Regions from separate parts of the Homo sapiens genome. Here all the other regions are linked to region 3. Evidence: promoter capture Hi-C in 16 types of primary human blood cells and fetal thymus (Javierre and others, 2016). All regions are on one chromosome and are shown on one strand. The core of a region is centred on a gene start or on the middle of the fragment in contact, and the rest is flanking DNA. Distances in the headings are between cores, read along the strand shown. Region 1 overlaps ANKRD24 (ankyrin repeat domain 24). Region 2 overlaps ANKRD24 (ankyrin repeat domain 24). Region 3 holds the start of ATCAY (ATCAY kinesin light chain interacting caytaxin).

Region 1 (4,247 bases), core at 425-2,924, 340 kb before region 3:
CACCTGCCTACCCCAGCCCCTCTCCTGGGATTCCCACCTGCGCTGTGCTGATTGGTAAATATTTGGACTCCTCCACCCTGATGGTCCCCTGGCCCCTGCGTGGCCCAGTCCTTACCTGCAGCTGCTGCTGTAAATCCTTCACCTGGTCACGGAGAGCCTCCACCTCAGGGGTGGCGAGGGCGGCCGGCTGCTCCTTCAAGGCTTCCTTAAGATTGAAGACTTCTTTGGAGAGTTCTGTGATCTGAGGGTGCAGGTGCTGTCAGCGATCACCCTAAGCCCAGAGCTGGGGGCTGAGGACCTCTCTGCAGCCGCAGGAAGAGGCCAGGGATAAAGGCTTTCAAGGGAAGGTCCCGTCCCTGGGGTTAGCAAACTCTGGCCTGAGGGCCACGTCTGGCCCACAGCCTGTTTTAATTGTATTTATTTATATTTTAGATGCTTATGGTTACCAACACAGCCTGTTTTTATACAACCCACAAGCTAAGGTTGGTTTTCACATTTTTTTGTTTTTGTTTGTTTCTTTTTGAGACAGAGTCTCGCTCTGTTGCCCAGGCTGGAGTGCAGTGGTGTGATCTCAGCTCACTACAACTTCCGCCTCCCAGGTTCAAGCAATTCTCCTGCCTCAGCCTCCTGAGTAGCTGGGACTACAGGTGCCCATCACCACATCTGGCTAATGTTTCTATTTTTAGTAGAGACGGGGTTTCGCCATGTTGGCCAGGCTGGTCTTGAACTCCTGACCTCAGGTGATCCACTTGCCTGGGCCTCCCAAAGTGCTGGGATTACAGGCGTGAGCCACCGCGCCCGGCCAATAGTTCTTAACTTAGTAGTTGCTGTGATCCTGCACAGAGATTAAGTTTAAACTGTGCCTAGTCAACAGTAGGCACTCAATAAATGCCGGGCCTTATTATTACTATAGATCTGGGGTTCTCAACTTGAGGCAATTCTGCCCCCCAAGGGGACACTGGGTGTTGTGTGGGGACATCTGTGGTTGTCACGACTTGGAGGAGCTCTTGGCTTGGAGTGGGTAGAGGTCAAGGACGCTGCTCAGTCCCCTACAATGCCCAGATGGCCCCAGCCCAGGAAATGATCCCGCTCCTATGTCCACAGTGTGCAAGGGAAGAAACCAGGCTACAGATAAACCATCATCCTAACTGCAATTTTGCCCTCCCTTTACAGAGGGGAAACTGAAGCTCAGAGAGGTGAAGTGTCTGGTCTAAGGTCCCACAGTGAGTCGAGGCTGGGTCATTCTTTATGCTGAAGCGCCTGGGACTCTGGGTGTCTCGTCTCCTGTCCAGTGACATGTTGCGTGACTTTGAGCCACTCACTTCATCTCTTAAAGCTTTGGTTTGCTTATCTGGAAAATGGGGACAAAAATACTTTCTGAAACCAGGTGCGGTGGCTCACGCCTGTCATCCTACCACTTTGGGAGGCTGAGGCAGACAGATCGCTTGAGCTCAAGAGTTTGAGACCAACCTGGGCAATATGGTGAAACCCCATCTCTTACCAAACAAACAAACAAACAAACAAACAAAAGCAAAAAAAAACAGGCCAGGCACGGTGGCTCATGACTGTAATCCCAGCACTTTGGGAGGCTGAATCACCTGAGGTCGGGAGTTCGAGACCAGCCTGGCCAACATGGTGAAACCCAGTCTCTACTAAAAATACAAAAATTAGCTGGGTGTGGTGGCACTCGCCTGCAGTCCCAGCTACTCGGGAGGCTAGGCAGGAGAATCTCTTGAACCCGGGAGGTGAGGTTGCAGTGAGCCAAAATCATGCCACTGTACTTCACCCTGAGCGACAGAGTGAAACTTTCTCTCAAAAAAAAAAGAAAGAAACAAAAAAATTAGCCAGGCATGATGGCACACACCTGTAACCTGTAGTCCTGGCTACTCAGGAGGCTGAGGCAGGAAGATCGCTTGAACCCAGGAGGTCGAAGCTGCAATGATCTGAGATTGCACCACTGCACTCCAGCCTGGGTGACAAAGTGAGACTCTGCCAAAAAAAAAAAAAGCTTTCTGGCTTTTAGCGTTGCAGGAAGATTAAAAATGGTAATGTGTGAGGCCGGTCGCGGTGACTCACGCCTGTAATCCCAGCACTCTGGGAGGCCGAGGCAGGCGGATCACGAGGTCAGGAGATTGAGACCATCCCAGCTAACATGGTGAAACCCCATCTCTGCTAAAAATACAAAAAAATTAGCCGGGCGTGGTGGCAGGCGCCTGTAGTCCCAGCTACTCGGGAGGCTGAGGCAGGAGAATGGCGTGAACCCGGGAGGCAGAGTTTACAGTGAGCCAAGATCACGCCACTGCACTCCAGTCTGGGTGACAGAGCAAGACTCTGCCTCAGAAAAAAACAAAACAACAATAAAAAAAGGTAATGTGTGAAAAATTCCCAATCTAACACCTGGAGGCTGTTGTTATCATCATTAGTATTGTTTAGGAACGAAACGTGGGAACGTGGGTACAAACCCAGCTGAAAGACTGCATGGCTGTGTGACCTTAGGCAAGTGACTTCACCTCTCTGTGCTTCTGTTTCCTCAAATGGGGATAATAAAAGCCCCTATCCTGTGAGAACTGGATGTGACTAAATGCATCCAGTCCACAGGGCCTGGCATGCAGTAAGCACTCAATAAATGTAACTGTGGAGACAGACGCAGTGGCTCACGCCTGTAACCCCAGCCCTTTTGGGGGCTGAGGCAGGCGGATCACTTGAGCTCAGGAGTTCGAGACCAGCCTGGCCAACGTGACGAAACCCCATCTCTACTAAAAATATAAAAAATTAGCTGGGTGTGGTGTCGCATGCCTGTAATCCCAGCTGCTCGGGAGGCTGAGGCACGAGAATTGCTTGAACCCAGAGGTTGCAGTGAGCCGAGATCATGCCACTGCACTCCAGCCTGGGCGACAGAGCGAGACTCCGTCTCAAGTAAAAAAATAAAATAAATGTAACTGTGGTTATAATTGGTACCTGGAACAGCAGCCTGTGTGTGTCTGACTTGTCAGAGGCTGTAACCAGGTCCCCTTCCGTTTCTGAGCCTCAGTTTCCCTTCTGGAAAATGGGTTGATTTTCCAAGGCCCTTGCAGTGAGGACCTTCGTAGATTGGCCCCAACCTTTGCTGAGTGGATGCCTCCCTGACTGAGTGTGGGAGAGGGGGCACCCACCTTCTTGTCCTTCTCCTTGGCCTTGTCCAGAGCCTCCTGGGCCCGGCTCTGGGCCTGGCGAGCCCTTTCCGCCTCGGTCCGTAGCCCCCGTAGCTGCTGCTCTGCTGTGGCCAGCTGTGCCTCGGCTGCGTGTCGCTCACTCTTCATGAACAGGGCCTCACGCTGCACCTGTGGCCCAAGCCCACGCATGACTCTCAGGACACTAAGACTCCAATGATGCTAGACCCCAGAATTCATATGATCCTTCTACTTTGTTCTTTTGTTTTTGGATTTTTTTTAAGACAGGGTCTTGCTCTGTTGCTCCGGACCTGCACTCCTGGCTGGAGTGCGGTGGTGCGATCATGGCTCACTGTAGCCTCAATCTTTCAGGCTTAAGTGATCCTCCCACCTCGGCCTTCCAAGTAGCTGGGACCACAGGTGCCACCATGCCTGGCTACTATTTGCTTGTTTTTGTTTTGTTTTTGTTTTTTTTTGAGACAGAGTCTTGCTCTGTCGCCTAGGCTGGAGTGCAGTGGTGTAATCTCAGCTCACTGCAACCTCCACTTCCCGGGTTCAAGCGATTCTCCTGCCTCAGCCTCCCCAGTAGCTGGGATTACAGGCACGTGCCACAATGCCAACCTAATTTTTGTATTTTTAGTAGAGACGGGGTTTCACGATGTTGTCCAGGCTGGTCTCGAACTTGTGACCTCAGGTGATCCACTCACCTTGGCCTCCCAAAGTGCTGGGATTACAGGCGTGAGCCACGGTGCCCGGCCATGAGCTCAGGTGTTTGAGACCAGCGTGGGCAACATGGCAAAACCCTGTCTTTACAAAAAATTAAAAAGTTAGACGAGCATGGTGGTGCACACCTGTGGTACCAGCTACTTGGGAGGCTGAGGTGGGAGGATTACTTGAGCCCAGGAGGTGGAGGTTGCAGTGAGCTATGATTGTGCCACTGCACTCCAGCCTGGGTGACTGGGTGACTTTTCAGACAGAGCCACACCCTGTCTGAAAAAAAAAAAAAAAGAAAGGAAGGGAAGGGGAAGGGGGGAGGGAAGGGGGATGAAGAAAGAAAGGAAAGAGAGAGGAAGGAAGGAGAAATAAAGAGAAAGAAAG
Region 2 (4,190 bases), core at 918-3,417, 320 kb before region 3:
CCTGAAGAGATCCCAGAAGCTTACCCGATCTTGGGGGTTTAGATGTGCCTTAAAGGAGCAGAGCACCTCTGAGCAGGAGAGACAGCCACCAGCCGCTGCAAAAGAGAAAAGGTTGTCCGGTGCGGTAGCTCAACCCTGTAATCCCAGCACCTTGGGAGGCCAAGGCAGGAGGTTCGCTTGAGTTCTGGAGTTTGAGACCAACCTGGGCCAACACAGTGAGACCCTGTCTCTACAAAAAAAAAAAAAAAAAAGCAAACATTATCTGGGTGTGGTGGTGTGTGTCTGTGGCCCCAGCTACTAGGGAGTCCCCAGCTGAAGCGGGAGGACCGCTTGAGCTCAGGAGTTCAAGGCTGCAGTGAACCATGATGGCACCACTGCAAACCAGCCTGGGTGACAGAGTGAGATCTTGTCTCAAAAACCAAGAAAAGAAAGGAAGACAAACAAAAGGGGGAAGAGTAGGGGTAGGGTGAGACTTCGACATTTTCTGGGCACTTTCTGCCTGGGTGTGACCCTGCTCCTTTATTTCATGAGAAATTCCCATGTGCCCTGAGGAATTTGTAACAAAGGCAAGTTTTGCATTTTACAGATGCAGCAACTGAGGCCCAACCAGGCCAGTGGTCACCCACTGGGGTAAGAGGCAGAGTCAGATCTAGGATCTAGGTCTGCCGACTGCCAGTCCCAAGCACTGTGGTTCCCTATACTTTTTGTAGAGACGGGGTCTCGCTGTGTTGCCCAGACTGGTCCCGAACTCCTGGGCTCAAGTGATCCTCCTGCCTCGGCCTCCCAAGGGGCTGGGATTACAGGAATGAGACCCACACTACAAGGCATGTGCAACCGTGCCTGGCTAATTTTTATTTTATTTTATATTATATTATTTTATTTTTTTAGAGACAGGGTCTTGCTACGTTGCCCAGGCTTTTCTTGAACTCCTGGGCTCAAGCAATCTGCCGCCGGGACTGTAGGCGTGCACCACCACTCCTGGCTAATTCTTTTTTTTAATTTTTTATGGAAATGGAATGTCACTATATTGCCCAGGCTGGTCTCAAACTCCTAGGTTCAAGCAATCCTCCTGCCTCTGGCTCCCAAAGTGCTGGGATTATAGGCTGCAGCCACCATGCCCGGCCCCGTTTATGTGTTTATGTATTTATTTAATTTTATTTATTTATTTATTTATTTATTTATTTATTTATTTTTGAGACGGAGTCTTGCTCTGGTCACCCAGGCTGGAGTGCAGTGGCCCGATCTCGGCTCACTGCAACCTCCACCTCCCGGGTTCATGCCATTCTCCTGCCTCAGCCTCCCGAGTAGCTGGGACTACAGGCGCCCGCCACCACACCCGGCTAATTTTTTGTATTTTTAGTAGAGACGGGGTTTCACCGTGTTAGCCAGGATGGTCTCGATTGCCTGAGCTCGTGATCCACCCGCCTCGGCCTCCCAAAGTGCTGGGATTACAGGCGTGAGCCACCGCACCCGACCTATTTTTATTTTTTGAGATGGAGTCTCCCTCTGCACCCACGCTGGAGTGCAGGGGTGTGATCTTGGCTCACTGCAACCTCCGCCTCCCCGGTTCCAGCGATTCTCCTGCCTCAGCCTCCCGAGTAGCTGGGATTATAGGCATGAGCCATCACGCCTGGCTAATTTTTATATTTTTAGTAGAGATGGGGTTTTGCCATGTTGCCCAGGCTGGTCTCAAACTCCTGGGCTCAAGCAATCCTCCCACCTCTGACTCCCATAGTGCTAGGATTACAGGCGTGCACCACTGTGCCTGGCCTGTCTATTTATATTTTAAGAGATCCCTCCTACTGCCATTTGCCCAGGACCAGAGTGGAAACAGGGAGGCTCCCCAGGAGGCTGTGCAGCTGACACAAGGGCATGGTCTCTGGAATCCCTGGGTATGAATTCCAGCAGGTTGACATCCAGTCTGATTAAGCACAAAAATCCATTTTTCAGTCAACAAACTCTGTTTGAATACCTGCTGTATGTCTGAGGCAGTATGAGGTTTTGATTGCTGCAAACCTTATCTACAACACGTAGAACGGTGCCTGACACACAGTAGGTACTCAATAACTGTTTGTTGTTGTTGTTGGTTGGTTGGTTTTTTTGAGATGGGGTCTCGCTCTGTTGCCCGGGCTGTGCAGGGGCATGATCTCGGCTCTATGCAACCTCCACTCCCCGGGTTTAAGCAATTCTCCTGCCTCAGCCTCCCGAGTAGCTGGGATTACAGGCACATGCCTCCATGCCTGGCTAATTTTTTGCATTGTTTAGTAGAGACAGGGTTTCACCGTGTTGGCCAGGATGGTCTTGATCTCCTGACCTCATGATCCGCCCGCCTCAGGCTCCCAAAGTGCTGGGATTATAGGCGTGAGCCACTGCACCCGGCCTTAATTTTTTATTATTAGTAGAGACAGGGTTTCACCATGTTGGCCAGGCTATTCTCGAACTCCTGACCTCTGCTAATCTGCCCGCCTGGGCCTCCCAGAGTGCTCAGTTAACTGTTGAGTGACAAAAACCAACGGACTCCTATATTGTGACCAGAAGCATTGCCGCCACTAGGTGGCAGCATACTCCAACTGCAGAGAATTCTCACCCAGTGACTAAAACCCCCAAAGCCCTATTTTATTCTGAGTTTCCGAAAGAACAGATGTTTCTTGAGTCGTCAGCGAAAGCCATGCCTGAATTTCACGGGGACAGCGGACAGGTCGGGGGCTGAGTTCTGGTTCAAGTCGGTGGGTCCCTTTCCCTCCCTCTGGGAAGGAGTTTGGATTAGGTGATTATGAGGGTACCAGCTGCCTGGAGCTATGGTTTTCCTGGTATCTCCTAGGGGCTCCACAAAGGAAATTAAACCCTAGGGACCTCTCCTCATCCTCACAAAGCCCAGGAGTACATTCGACTGCTCCTTGAGGTCAGACGACCTGGATTCCCTACGATTTACCTGCTGCGGACAAGTGACAGCCTCATTAAGCCTCATCAAGCCTCATCTGTGCAATGGGCTAATAGCCTGTGGTTCAAAGGGTAACCGGGATTTATGATGGGCTCCAGTGCCTGGCACACAGTAGGTAATAAAAAAGGAGAAGGGCCGGCACGGTGGCTCACGCCTGTAATCCCAGCACTTTGGGAGGCCGAGCAGGCGGATCACGAGGTCAGGAGATCAAGACCATCCTGGCTAACACAGTGAAACCCCGTCTCTACTAAAAAATACAAAAAAATTAGCCGGGCATGGTGGCAGGCGCCTGTAGTCCCCGCTACTCGGGAGGCTGAGGCAGGAGAATGGCGTGGACCCGGGAGGCGGAGCTTGCAGTGAGCCGAGATCACGCCACTGCACTCCAGCCTGGGTGACAGAGCGAGACTCCACCTCAAAAAAAAAAAAAAAAAAAAAAAAGGGAGAAGGGCCGGCACGGTGGCTCACGCCTGTAATCCCAGCACTTTGGGAGGCCGAGGCGGGCAGATCACCTGAGGTCAGGAGTTCGAGATGAGCCTGGCCAACATGGTGAAACCCCATCTCTACTAAAAATACAAAAAAATTTTAGGTGGGTGTTGTGGCATAGGTCTGTAGTCCCAGCTACTCAGGAGGCTAAGGCAGGAGAATTGCTTGAACCTGGGAGGTGGAGGTTGCAGTGAGCCAAGATTGCGCCATTGCACTCCACCCTGGGCGACAGAGGGAGATTCTATGTCAAGAAAAAAAGGAGGAGGCTAGGTGAGGTGGCTCACGCCTGTAATTCCAGCACTTTGAGTGGCCGAGGTGGGAGGATCATTTGAGCCCAGGAGTTTGAGATCAGCCTGGGCAACATAGCAAGATCCTGTATCTACAAATAAATTTAAAATATTAGCCAGGCATGGTGGTGCACGCCTGTGGTCCCAGCTACTTGGGAGTCTGAGGCAGGAGGATCGTTTGAACCCGGGAGGTCAAGGATGCAGTGAGCCATGATTGCCCCACTGTACTTCAGCCTGGGCAACAGAGCAAGACCCTATCTCATAAAAAGAAAAGGAAGGCCAGGAGCGGTGGCTCACGCCTGTAATCCCAGCACTTTGGGAGGCCAAGGCGGGTGGATCACCTGAGGTCAGGAGTTCGAGACCATCCTGGCCACCATGGTGAAACCCCGTCTTTACTAAAAATACAAAACATCAGCCAGGTGTGGTGGCAGGTGCCTCTAGTCCCAGCTACTCGGGAGGCTGAGGCAGGAAAATTGCTT
Region 3 (3,981 bases), core at 620-3,119:
GTCAAGACCAGCCTGGGCAACATAGCAAGTCCCCATCTCTTAAAAAAAAAAAAATACAAAAATTAACCAAACATGGTGATGGGTGCCTGGTGCCTGAAGTCCCAGCTATTCAGGAGGCTGAAGTTGGAGGATCGCTTGAGACCAGGAGGTCGAGACTGCAGTGAGCTATGATCATGCCACTGCTTTCCAGCCTGAGCAACAGAGACCCTACTTCAAAAAATAAAATAAAAGATAAAGCATCTGGCTGGGGGCAGTGGCTCACACGTGTAATCCCAGCACTTTGCGAGGATCGCCTGAGCACAGGAGGTTAAGACCAGCCCGGGCAAGATAGCAAGACCCTGTCTCAAAAAAACCAAATACATGAAGCATCTAAGGCCCCCAACTCTCATGGCATCCAGGCTGCCTCTCTGTGGAGTAGGTTACCTGCAGCCCCCCAGCATAGATATCGGGTTTGCATCGGGGACAGGGGACTGTGGCTTAGCAAGGAAGGACCCAGAGGCAGCCTCAGCCAGATGAGGAAGTGGGGGGAGGGGACGGCTAAAACTAGACCCTCCCCCGTACAGGGTGAGCGTTTCTCACTCGATTCTCTGTCCTCAATGTCGTCATTCATGCTTGGAGGAGGGACAGTAACACGCAGCATGGAAAAAAAAAAAATCCCTCCTGGATGCTATGGGGTCGGGGGGGGGGCGGTGGCAGCAGCCAGCCAGGCCCTTCCCGCGAGGGTAAGTTCTCCTCGGCAGTAGAAACGCATTTGCTCTCCGGAGGAAGGGGTCTTCGCCTCTCCCTTCCTTATACTGAGCTGGGTGTGACCTCAGCCCCCAGGAACACTCCCACCAGCCCCGCCCCCGACCCCCACCCCCTGCCAGCTGCAGCCACAGGCGTTGACTCCACAGTCTTCTAAGGATGGGGTGGGGTGGGTCCTCAGTGGGCCCCGGACACTCCTGCACTCAGATCCTGGCTTCGCATTTGGGGACGGCCAAAAGAAGACAGTGACATCAAGGAACGGGAGTGAAGCGCTCATTTGAGCCCTGATGTCTGATTATTAACAAATCACATACGAGTTCCAATAAGGAGGAGGCATCTGTGTCTTAAACCATAAACCACCCCCTTCCTCCCCACCCCACAGGACAGCCTTTATCGACACACTTAGATTTTTTTTTTTTTTTTTTCCCGAAATCGTCGGCTGGTGGCCTTCCTAGCGTTATAAATAGGAAATACATAGGGCTAGGATGGGTCTATTTCAGCGTCCCAGAGAGAAGCTGAGGTTTTCATCCGCCCGAGCTCTCAGCGTGTCCTGAAAATGGTGCACTTAGAGGGGAACGGTGCGCGCGGAAGGTAAACTGTGTTGCTGGGCGCAGCTCAGGGAACGGTTTTCCCTGGTACCGGGAACAGGGATGTGAGGGCCTTCACGGAGTCACAAGACCGTGGCTCTCTGCTCCCACCCGCCCCATCTGCTGGAAAGGGATTTAGAGGCGGCAAAGGCTGCCGGATAAACCTTCCAGGGAGACGGTTTATCCTGGGAGAAGGGGAGATGCGCGCACTCACCTCTGCAGCTGAGACAGCCTCTCCTCCTTACTGGCAAACAAAGGCGAGCCCTGCCCGGGTGCAGCTGGGCATCGCTCACGCTCCCCGGGCCTTCAGAGCCTAGGAGGAAGAGGATGCTCGCAGGGGCGGATTCTGCATCCGAGGAAGGTCACCCAGGGCGACGTGGCCAGCGCCCGCCAGCTCTTTTGTGCAGGGGTGGGTGGGGTGCAGGGTTAGCGGTGGGCTCCCCAGCGCGGGGCTGCGGCTGCGCCCCCTCTCATCGCCGCCCGCCTGCGCGCCCTGCCTCCGAGGTAGCTGCTTCTTCCCAGCTCAGGGCTGGCAGAGGCTCGGCTTCCCGAAGACGGTTAATTTATGCTGCTTTTGTGTGCAGGGAGGAGGGGGTGGGGGGTGGCGGCCTGACGGAAAAGCACAGCCCCCTGCCAGAATCCGATCCTCCCCATTGGCTGACAGACAAGCATCTCCGAAAGCCACGCCAGGGGCAGAGGCAGAAATAATTTTCTGATGGCGCATCAGAGATTTAAAAACAAAACAACGGACAAATAAATAAATAAATGGCAAGATGGCCTCATTCCTTAGAGAATGGGGGGTGGGGGAGTTGGGAAAGGTCTTCTTGGCACTTCTCCTTGCAAAGGGAGCAGGGGTGAGGGGTGGCATCCCCCAAAAAGTCTGTGCAGGCAAAGAAATGACTGTCCCCAGGTCGGATGCCATGGCTCACGCCTGTAATCCCAGCACTTTCGGAGGCCGAGGAGGGAGGATCACCTGAAGTCAGGAGTTCGATACCAGCCTGGCCAACATGGTGAAACCCCGTTTCTACTGAAAATACAAAAATTAGCCAGGCGTGGTGGCGTGCGCCTGTAATCCCAGCTACTCGGGAGGCTGAGGCAGGAGAATCGCTTGAACCTGGGAGGCGGAGGTTGCAGTGAGCCGAGATGGCGCCACTGCACTGCAGCCTGGGCGGCAGAGGGAGACTCTGTCTCAAAGAAAAAAAAAAAAAAAGAAAGAAATGACTGTCCCCAGGTCACCGTGTTGTGGGTCCATTAGATGGTCACTTACCATTGATTCAGCCTCGTGCCCTAAACAGGGCTGGGTGCAGGGGAGGCGGAAGTTTCTCAGGCACACTCACTTTGCAGGGCTGCTGTGGGAACGGCGCCCCCTGCAGTTGTGCGCTGGCGTGGCCTCGCCCTGGAGGAATTCAAGGAGACTGTGGAAGATGGTAGGGTGGAGAGTGCAGGCCGTGCAGTCGGACTGGAAGTGGGTTTGAACTCTAGCCCAGCCACTCCCCAGCTGGCAGACCAGTGGGCATGAGTGATCTCACCTGCGGGCCTCAGTTTTTCTCATCTGTGAAATGGAGCCGCTATGGCTTTTCCACATTATGAGATAATGCATAGACAGCACTAAACACAGTGCTGGGGCACAAGAAAAGCTCCCTATGTGTTTCTTTCTCTTTCTTTCTTTCTTTCTTTCTTTCTTTCTTTCTTTCTTTCTTTCTTTCTTTCTTTCTTTTTTTTTTTTTTTTAGGTGGAGTCTCGCTCTGTTGCCAGGCTGGAGTACAGTGGTGCGATCTTGGCTCACTGCAACCTCCGACTCCCAGGTTCAAGTGGTTCTCCTCCCTCAGCCTCCCAAGTAGCTGGGATTACAGGCACACACCACCACACCTGGCTAATTTTTTTTTTGTATTTTTAGTAGAGGCGGGGTTTCAACATGTTGGCCAGGCTGGTCTCGAACTCCTGACTTCAGGTGATCCGCCCACCTTGGCCTCCCAAAGTGCTGGGATTAGAGGTGCGAATCACTGTGCTCGGCCTATATGTATTTCTTGCTATTGCTGTTTTTAATGTTTATTTTATTTACTTATTTTTTTAAGAAACAGGAGTTTTCCCTGTCATCCAGGCTGGAGTGCAATGGCACAATCACAGCTCGCTGCAGTCTTGAACTCCCGGGCTCAGGTGATCCTTACACCTCTTTCTCTCCAGTGGTTGAGACTACAGGCTCCTACCACCACGCCCTGCTAATCTGTGTAATTTTTGTAGAAATAGGGTATCTCTCTATTGCCCAGGCTGGTCTTGAATTCTTGGGCTCAAGTGAGCCTCTCATCTCAGCCTCGAAAAATGTTGGGATTATAGGTGTGAGCCACCGTGCCTGACCCACAGCACTTACTATTAATTGAAATTATTTACACTTTTTTGTTGTTGTTGTTGATTCTCTGCTCCTCCTTATTAGAATATACTGGGTTTTGTTTTGTTTTGTTTTGTTTTGAGACAGAGACTTGCTCTGTTTCCCAGGCTGGAGTGCAGTGGTGTGATCTCAGCTCACCGCAACCTCCTCCTCCTCTCAGGTTCAAGCGATTCTCATGCCTCAGCCTCCCAAGCATCTGGGACTACAGGCATGCACCACCACACCCAGCTATTTTTTTTATTTTTGGTAGAAACGGGGTTTCAC

What was found. Contacts are between HindIII fragments. The CHiCAGO score rates a contact against its expected background, and 5 or more counts as called.
Region 1: a fragment that was not itself captured here is called in contact with the fragment with the promoter of ATCAY in region 3 in 3 of 17 cell types (erythroblasts, M2 macrophages and M1 macrophages); the score reaches 7.3 in erythroblasts.
Region 2: a fragment that was not itself captured here is called in contact with the fragment with the promoter of ATCAY in region 3 in 2 of 17 cell types (M0 macrophages and M2 macrophages); the score reaches 6.1 in M0 macrophages.

Annotation. Positions count from the first base shown.
Region 1 is chr19:4,218,664-4,222,910 of GRCh38, reverse strand. ANKRD24 (ankyrin repeat domain 24) reads right to left here. Exons shown (of 22, transcript NM_001393985.1): 19 at 3,153-3,320; 20 at 116-241. Among named protein-coding and RNA genes, the nearest start is that of EBI3, 8.7 kb to the left of the region's middle. The HindIII fragment of the contact is 672 bases long and covers 1,339-2,010 here.
Region 2 is chr19:4,203,147-4,207,336 of GRCh38, reverse strand. ANKRD24 (ankyrin repeat domain 24) reads right to left here. Exons shown (of 22, transcript NM_001393985.1): 8 at 25-95. Among named protein-coding and RNA genes, the nearest start is that of ANKRD24, 23 kb to the right of the region's middle. RefSeq lists a silencer at 2,186-2,399. The HindIII fragment of the contact is 4,292 bases long and covers 22-4,190 here.
Region 3 is chr19:3,878,573-3,882,553 of GRCh38, reverse strand. ATCAY (ATCAY kinesin light chain interacting caytaxin) reads right to left here and starts at 1,869. Exons shown (of 13, transcript NM_033064.5): 1 at 1,546-1,869. RefSeq lists an enhancer at 1,664-2,194. The HindIII fragment of the contact is 12,603 bases long and covers 1-3,981 here.